2 separate regions of the Homo sapiens genome follow, and region 1 is linked to region 2. The links are contacts of gene promoters, found by promoter capture Hi-C in blood cells and fetal thymus (Javierre and others, 2016). All regions are on one chromosome and are shown on one strand. Each heading gives the region's core, a stretch centred on a gene start or on the middle of the fragment in contact. The rest is flanking DNA. Distances are from core to core; before and after follow the strand shown. Region 1 holds the start of BST2 (bone marrow stromal cell antigen 2). Region 2 holds the start of COPE (coat protein complex I subunit epsilon).

Evidence for each region. The method cuts DNA at HindIII sites, captures the fragments that hold promoters and counts their contacts. A CHiCAGO score of 5 or more calls a contact.
Region 1: a contact is called between the fragment with the promoter of BST2 here and the fragment with the promoter of COPE in region 2, in 1 of 17 cell types (total CD4 T cells). The highest score is 5.1, in total CD4 T cells.

Annotation. Positions count from the first base shown.
Region 1 is chr19:17,404,076-17,407,574 of GRCh38, forward strand. It overlaps BST2 (bone marrow stromal cell antigen 2), which reads right to left and starts at 1,555. Exons shown (of 5, transcript NM_004335.4): 1 at 1,216-1,555; 2 at 296-362; 3 at 54-114. The coding sequence starts at 1,500. BISPR (BST2 interferon stimulated positive regulator) reads left to right here and starts at 1,611. Exons shown (of 4, transcript NR_130766.1): 1 at 1,611-1,696; 2 at 2,002-2,221. It also overlaps a transcript of MVB12A not described here. RefSeq lists enhancers at 734-1,472, 1,457-1,516, 1,587-1,966, 2,157-2,216, 2,267-2,316 and 2 more. The HindIII fragment of the contact is 7,369 bases long and covers 1,436-3,499 here.
Region 2 is chr19:18,917,591-18,920,819 of GRCh38, forward strand. It overlaps COPE (coat protein complex I subunit epsilon), which reads right to left and starts at 1,797. Exons shown (of 10, transcript NM_007263.4): 1 at 1,633-1,797. The coding sequence starts at 1,758. It overlaps DDX49 (DEAD-box helicase 49), which reads left to right and starts at 2,125. Exons shown (of 13, transcript NM_019070.5): 1 at 2,125-2,266; 2 at 2,990-3,113. The coding sequence starts at 2,152. RefSeq lists enhancers at 7-897, 1,800-2,399 and a silencer at 1,530-1,719. The HindIII fragment of the contact is 20,861 bases long and covers 1-3,229 here.

The sequences.
Region 1 (3,499 bases), core at 305-2,804, 1.5 Mb before region 2:
GGGGTGAGAGGAATGTGGCAGGTGGAGGGTAGCGGGGGAAGGCTATCTCTGACCTCAGTCGCTCCACCTCTGCAGACGCGTCCTGAAGCTTATGGTTTAATGTAGTGATCTCTCCTGGTAGGGTGGGAGGACAGAAACAGGGGGCGGGTCAGCATGTGGCCATGCTGGGGCCCTGCTCCACTCTGGGACAGAACCTCCCCCTTACCCCAACCTCCAGCCCTGGTCTCCCTGCCCCCACCCCCTCTTCCATACCTGACTCACCCCTCCCCGGCCCTCTCCCTTCTCCCTTTCTCACCCTCAAGCTCCTCCACTTTCTTTTGTCCTTGGGCCTTCTCTGCATCCAGGGAAGCCATTAGGGCCATCTAAGAAGAGTTAGAATCTGGGGTTTTGGCCTGGGGAGTTTGGCTGCTGCCCCTGGGACCTGGGCCTCCTCCCTAGGTCCTGGGGACAGAGGGGCTTAAATGCAAACCCCTTTCAGGTTTTCTTCCAACCCTCTCTGCACCATGGTCTCCAACCTTAAAGAACAGCCACAACCACACACTCTCCCAGGGCCACCCATAAGCATGTGGGTCCTCAAAATGGGAGTTTTGAGGCCACCCCACGTGGAAACTTGGAGGCTATCGATAACCAAAGTTTAGTGGACATTTCCAGATTGCCTGAGCAATGGCCCAAGAAAAGTTAGAGGGCCCTACCAAATCCAGAATGCAGTGGGATTTCCCCGCCCAAGTGACATGCCCAGCGAGAGTTTCAAGATCCCCCATATCAGGACCCAGGTGAATATTTCAGTTTCTTAGGGATGAAGTGAAAATTTCAAAAGCCCCCTTTTTCAGGGTCTGGTGAGGTCCCCCTTCAACCCTGAATAGGGATTTCTACTCCCCCAGGACTGGTGCCCACGAGGAGTTTCAAGGCCCCCGACACCAGTGCCCTGGAAAGAATTTATAAATTCACCTAAGTCCCAGGGGGATACTGAGGTCCCCGATTTGGGGGATCTGGAGAGTTTTAACACCCTGCCCCTACACCAGTGCCCTGGACTGGGTTAGGGGCCCACAAACCCTGGTAGGGGAACCTAGGTCCCTTGATGTGGGGGCCCAGGAGCAGTTTCAGGACCTCCCCTGCATCTCCCTGGAGACCCACCCTGGGTCAGATTTCTGGGGAGAGATTCTTGTCCCTCCCACCGCCTAGTACTAGGCCATCCAAAGGAGTTGAGGAGCTTACCACAGTGTGGTTGCAGGTGGCGGCCTGGGCCTCCACATCCTGAAAGCCCTTCTGGGCCTCGGTCAGCTCTTGTTGCAGGAGATGGGTGACATTGCGACACTCCATCACTGCCCGAAGGCCGTCCCGGCAGGCCTCGCTGTTGGCCTTGATGGTGAAGATAATCAAGGGCACCCCCAGAATCACGATGATCAGGAGCACCAGAATTCCTATCCCCAGCAGAAGCTTACAGCGCTTATCCCCGTCTTCCATGGGCACTCTGCAATAGTCATACGAAGTAGATGCCATCCAGATCTCCCCTTTAGAGTCTGGCCTGGAGTTAGGGGAGGGTGCTGGAATCTTCTACGGGCCACCCCTTTATTAGCATAGGAAACGTCCTGACCAATAGCAAGTTCCAGGAAGTGCTCTGACCAGCAGCTCTTGCATGAGGCACCTACAGGCAGAGGATTAATTAGGTTTTCAGTTTCAGTTTCCCAGAAAGGAGGTGGGCTTTTTTTTCACCCTGCTTTAAAAGCCCTTGGGCCCTTCCCAGCTGGGTGCCAGCCAACTGTGGCTGCCTGGGACACTCCATCTTAAGTCCCTGTGCCTCTGCTGTGTGTTACTGAGTGCCTAGGCCGTGCCAGCCTGTATTCATCTGTACTATGACCTGAAGAGGCAGAGGCCATCACTGTTGGTCCGGTCTCCACCTGGGGAAACTGAGGTTGCACAGTTGCGTGGTGGAGTGAGGGCAGGGCCTGGGTCTGGGGGCGGGGCCTGGGTCTGACCCCAGGGACTGGTTTTTGTGTTCAGGTGTCTCTGTGGTGACGAGCAGGGCTTCATCCAGTGCCTCTGTCCCCACCGAGGGGACTATGGGAGACATGGAGGGTGTGTGAGCAACAGGTGAGACTGGAGCCAGCTGAAAACTGGGAGACCGACCCAGCCAACAAACAATGTCGGTCTCTGTCTTGGCACCTGCAGGAAACAAGCTCCTACTTCCAGAAAAAGTGCTCCTGGGACTCCAGGATACCAGGTAAACTCTCTGAGCCTGTTTCTTCATCTGCAAAGGGGAATAACAGGGCCAGCCTCAGACACTGTCCATGTGGCCAAGAGAGCCAGGGCTTCCTACAGGAAATCAGGCCCATTATCGGCACCCAACTGCTGGGCATGACCGCTGAAAGGGGACTGCATGTTTTTCTTGTGGCTTCTTCAGCCACATCCTGACCACAGCCCAGATTCTGTTAGGTCTGCCATTTCCATGTTTTTTTTTCTTTTCAGCAGGGCCAGACAGTAGGCGAGGTCAAGTCCAGAGCCCAGGCCTCCCAGAAGGCCTGGGGAACTCCCCCCAGGCCCTGACTCCAACATCCCTCAGAAGGACCCCATTAAAGCCACTTAGAGCCAGGCATGGTGGTACATGCCTGTGGTCCCAGGCTGAGGCTGGGAGGCTGAGGCAGGAGGATCACTCGAGCCCAGGAGTTTGAGGCTGCAGCGAGCTATGATTGTGCCACGGCACTCAAGCCTGGGTGATAGAGTGGGATCCCATCTCTTAAACCAATAAACAAAAAAATCACTTAGAACCAAGAACCAATTAACAAGCTGTGGGAGATGATCTTGCTGAAAATTCTGAGGGTGAACTTGTCCCAGGAGGAGGGACCTACCAGCCTGGCCAGGACTCCAGGTGCAAAGACACGACCTTTGCCTGACTTATTTGACTAAGCTGACTTATTTGAGCAGCACTGTTCTGGCCTGCTAACTTTAGGGTTAGTTTGGGACCAGGTCGGAAATCACAATTGCATGAATTGCACATTGGAGGCCAGGGTGGTGCACCTCTGGGCAAATGAATTTCCTCTCTTAGCATTGATTTCCCCAGCTGTAAAATGTGGATAATAATAGATTGATGTCCTCTCTAAATTTTGCAGCTGTAAACAGTCCCAGCCCTGCAAACCGAAAGTTTGTTGCTCTTCCCTTTAAAATTACTGTAGGGACCAGCCCCACAGGGTCAGTGGGTCTCTCCCTGTGTGCGGCGACGAGAGAGTGTAGAAATAAAGACACAAGACGAAGAGATAAAAGAAAAGACAGCTGGGCCCGGGGGACCACTACCAGCAATGCGCGGAGACTGGTAGTGGCCCCGAATGTCTGGCTGTGCTGTTATTTATTGGATACAAAGCAAAAGGGGCAGGGTAAAGAGTGTGAGTCATCTCCAATGATAGGTAAGGTCACGTGGGTCACGTGTCCACTGGACAGGGGGCCCTTCCCTGCCTGGCAGCCGAGGCAGAGAGAGAGAGAGGGGACAGACAGAAAGACAGCTTAT
Region 2 (3,229 bases), core at 547-3,046:
ACTCCTGACCTCAGGTGATCCGCCCGCCTCCCAAAGTGCTGGAATTACAGGTGTGAACCACCGCGCCCGGCCAGGAAATCACTTCTAACTACAAGCAGCCAGAAAGAGGAGACAGTAAAACACAGAAAGACAGCTCGGACAGAGAGAGAGTGGGAAGAAAATTTCTTGGGTAACTGCCAAACTTCACCTTCATACAACGGGCCCCAGTAAAACAGTGGGCCTTAATAAGCACATTCCTTTCCCTTCAGGTGCACTAAAATAGGCAAGCTAAAAGCAGAGTAGGGGGGTATGCCTGCAGCTGCAGAAAGATGTATGGGAGGCTGGGCACGGTGGCTCACACCTGTAATCCCAACACTTTGGTAGGCCAAGGCGGGCAGATCACAAGGTCAAGAGATGGAGACCATCCTGGCCAACATGGTGAAACCCCGTCTCTACTAAAAATACAAAAATTAGCCGGGCCATGGTGGCGCGCGCCTGTAATCCCAGCTACTCGAGAGGCTGAGAAAGGAGAATTGCTTGAACCTGGGGGCGGAGGTTGCAGTGAGCCGAGATCACGCCACTGCACTCCAGCCTGGCAACAGCGCGAGTCTCCATCTCAAAAAAAAAAAAAAAAGAAAAGAAAAGAAAAGAAAAAAGAAAGATGTATGGGAACAGACACACAACTCTCCCTCCCAGATAAGCACAACGAAGAGACACAGAAGCAGTTCAAGCCTCTGATAAACTCTCCGACCCTGAATCCTTAAAAACTCTTAGTCTGTAAAAGAGTGTTACTCTGACCCAACTCCGCCAGAAGGCGCCTCTCAGGTTTGTTTTCTCTAAAATAAACCTGTCTTGACTGGCAAGCCACCTTTCGTGTTTCTTTCCTCTTTAATTCTTACAACTTTGTCACCCAGGCTGGAGTGCAGTGGCGCGATCTCGGTTCACTGCAACCTCGGCCTCCGGGTTGAAGCGATTCTCCTGTCTCAGCCTCCCGGTAGCTGAGATTACAAGTGCCCGCCACCACGCCCGGCTAATTTTTGGTAGACTCATGGTTTCTCCACGTTGCCCAAGCTGGTCTCGAACTCCTGGGCGCATGCGATCTGCCCGCCTCGGCCTCCCAAAGCGCCAGAATTACAGGCGTTTGAGCCACTGCGCTGGGAAACTGTGTTTATCATTCTGAGTCCAGCGGAATACAGTGCCCGTCCAAAAAAGTGCTCAATGAAGAATGAATGAATGAATGGGTAAGCTCTGGGAGAAATAACCAGGCTGGTTGGGCAGGGAAACGTCCTTCTCTGAACTTTAGGGTTCTCATCCGTAAAATGAGGATAAGCAACAGTCTCCATCTCACGGGAACTGAAGGTATGGCTGAACAAAATAGGCTTATTGTCACTACAGTGGCATAAACACCTCCCTTACTCAAAACACTTTCAAGGGCGCAGAGAGAACGCTGTACGAGTGAGCAGTACCGTAAACTGTTACTGCTCTGGGTTCTGTCACGGGACAGTGACTACTCCTCACTGAACTGTGGAAGAGGTGGCCCAAAAAACGCGAGAAGAAAAGAGAAAGTTTTTAGACGCAGAACGCGGCTCGCGGCCACCAGAAAGCGTCCTCCGCCTCCGCCCCCAGCGTCCCCGCGCCCCTGCGCGGCCGCACCTTCACCCGCTGCGCCTCGTTTATGCACTGCTGGTAGCTGCCGATGTAGAAGGCGTTCTTTACGTCGAACAGCTCGTCTACCTCCCCGGAGCCGCCGGAGGCCGGGCCGGGGGCCGGAGGCGCCATTTCGCTGTCTTCTCACCAGCTCCTCTTCCTGAAAGACACGTCAGCCGGAAGCAAGACACGGGCACGCTAGGAAATGTAGTTTACTTTTTCCGAGCGGCGGCGAAGTAAGCCAATGGGAAGCTCCACAATAATATGCAAGGGGGCGGAAGGCGTAAGTGCGTCACGGAGAGCATCTCGGGAATTGTAGTGTGTTTCTGCAAGCCAATGGGATCCGGGGAAACATGATAAGGATGCGGTCGAGGCTGGGAATAGGCTGAGGGAGCTGGAGAGGGTGGGACCACGCAGGAGGCAGATCCAATAAACAGGAAGATTTTTCTCGTGACGTCGTCGGCGCGCGCCGGAAGCGCGGATCACACGGGCCCCTACAAGGGGCCCCTACAAGCGGCCACAAGGATGGCAGGCTTCGCGGAGCTCGGGCTGTCATCGTGGCTCGTGGAACAATGTCGGCAGCTGGGTTTGAAGCAGCCCACGCCCGTGCAGCTCGGCTGCATCCCCGCCATCCTGGAGGGTGAGTATGGCCCAGGGCCTTCCCCAAGAGGCCTCTCCGCTCCTCTCGACTCCTTTCCCTTCTCGCAACCTTTGCTTATTCCGGTCCCACGAGGCGAGGGGCAACCTCGGGCGTTACAGGAGATCCGGGGTTCCGGAGGACGACTGGACAGTGTTGGCATTTAGGTTGCATGACTGACTCGCTTTGTGTTCGTACGCAAGTGATGTAATCTCTGAAATTTTCATAGTCTCAGCACAGGGAGGGTTTGATGGATGACTAGTCCGATAGTATCGCAAAATCCTGCAGACCTGGTACTGCTATCTTTATTTTACAAATAGAAGTTGAGGCTGTCAAAATTGCTGGTAGATCCAGGACTCCTTGGTCCTGTGATTGCTCCTCTAGGAGAAGGTCTTCTCTCTGCTCCTCTAGCCCAACCCAGTTTCGCCATTAAAGAGAGGCCCACAGGAAGCCTAAGATGTGATAAGTCAGGGATTAAATAAACAAATGAAGGGGTCAACAGGGAGCACAAGATGCATATGAGGGAAGGGAATTCTGGATTCCCCAAATTCACGTGCTCCTGGACGGAGTTAGAACGAGGTGGTAGGAAGCTGTGGGCATCTCGGGTCAAATGGATATGGGTTCCAGTCCAGCCTGCCACTCACTGGCAGTGTGTCCTGGGCAAGGTCTCTGAAACCCAGCTGTCCACACATGGAGGGTGTTGATGCTGCTTTGTCCCCAACCCAGGTCGAGACTGCTTGGGCTGTGCTAAGACAGGCAGTGGGAAGACAGCAGCGTTTGTCCTTCCCATCTTGCAGAAGCTGTCTGAGGATCCCTATGGCATCTTCTGCCTCGTCCTGACACCCACCAGGTAAGCCCCCAGCAGGCCTCCTGGGTATGGGTTAACCAGCTGTGCTCTCTTGGGCAAGCACCTTTCCCTCTCTGAGCGCCCTTTTCCCACGTGTGAGATGAGCATGAAAATCTTGC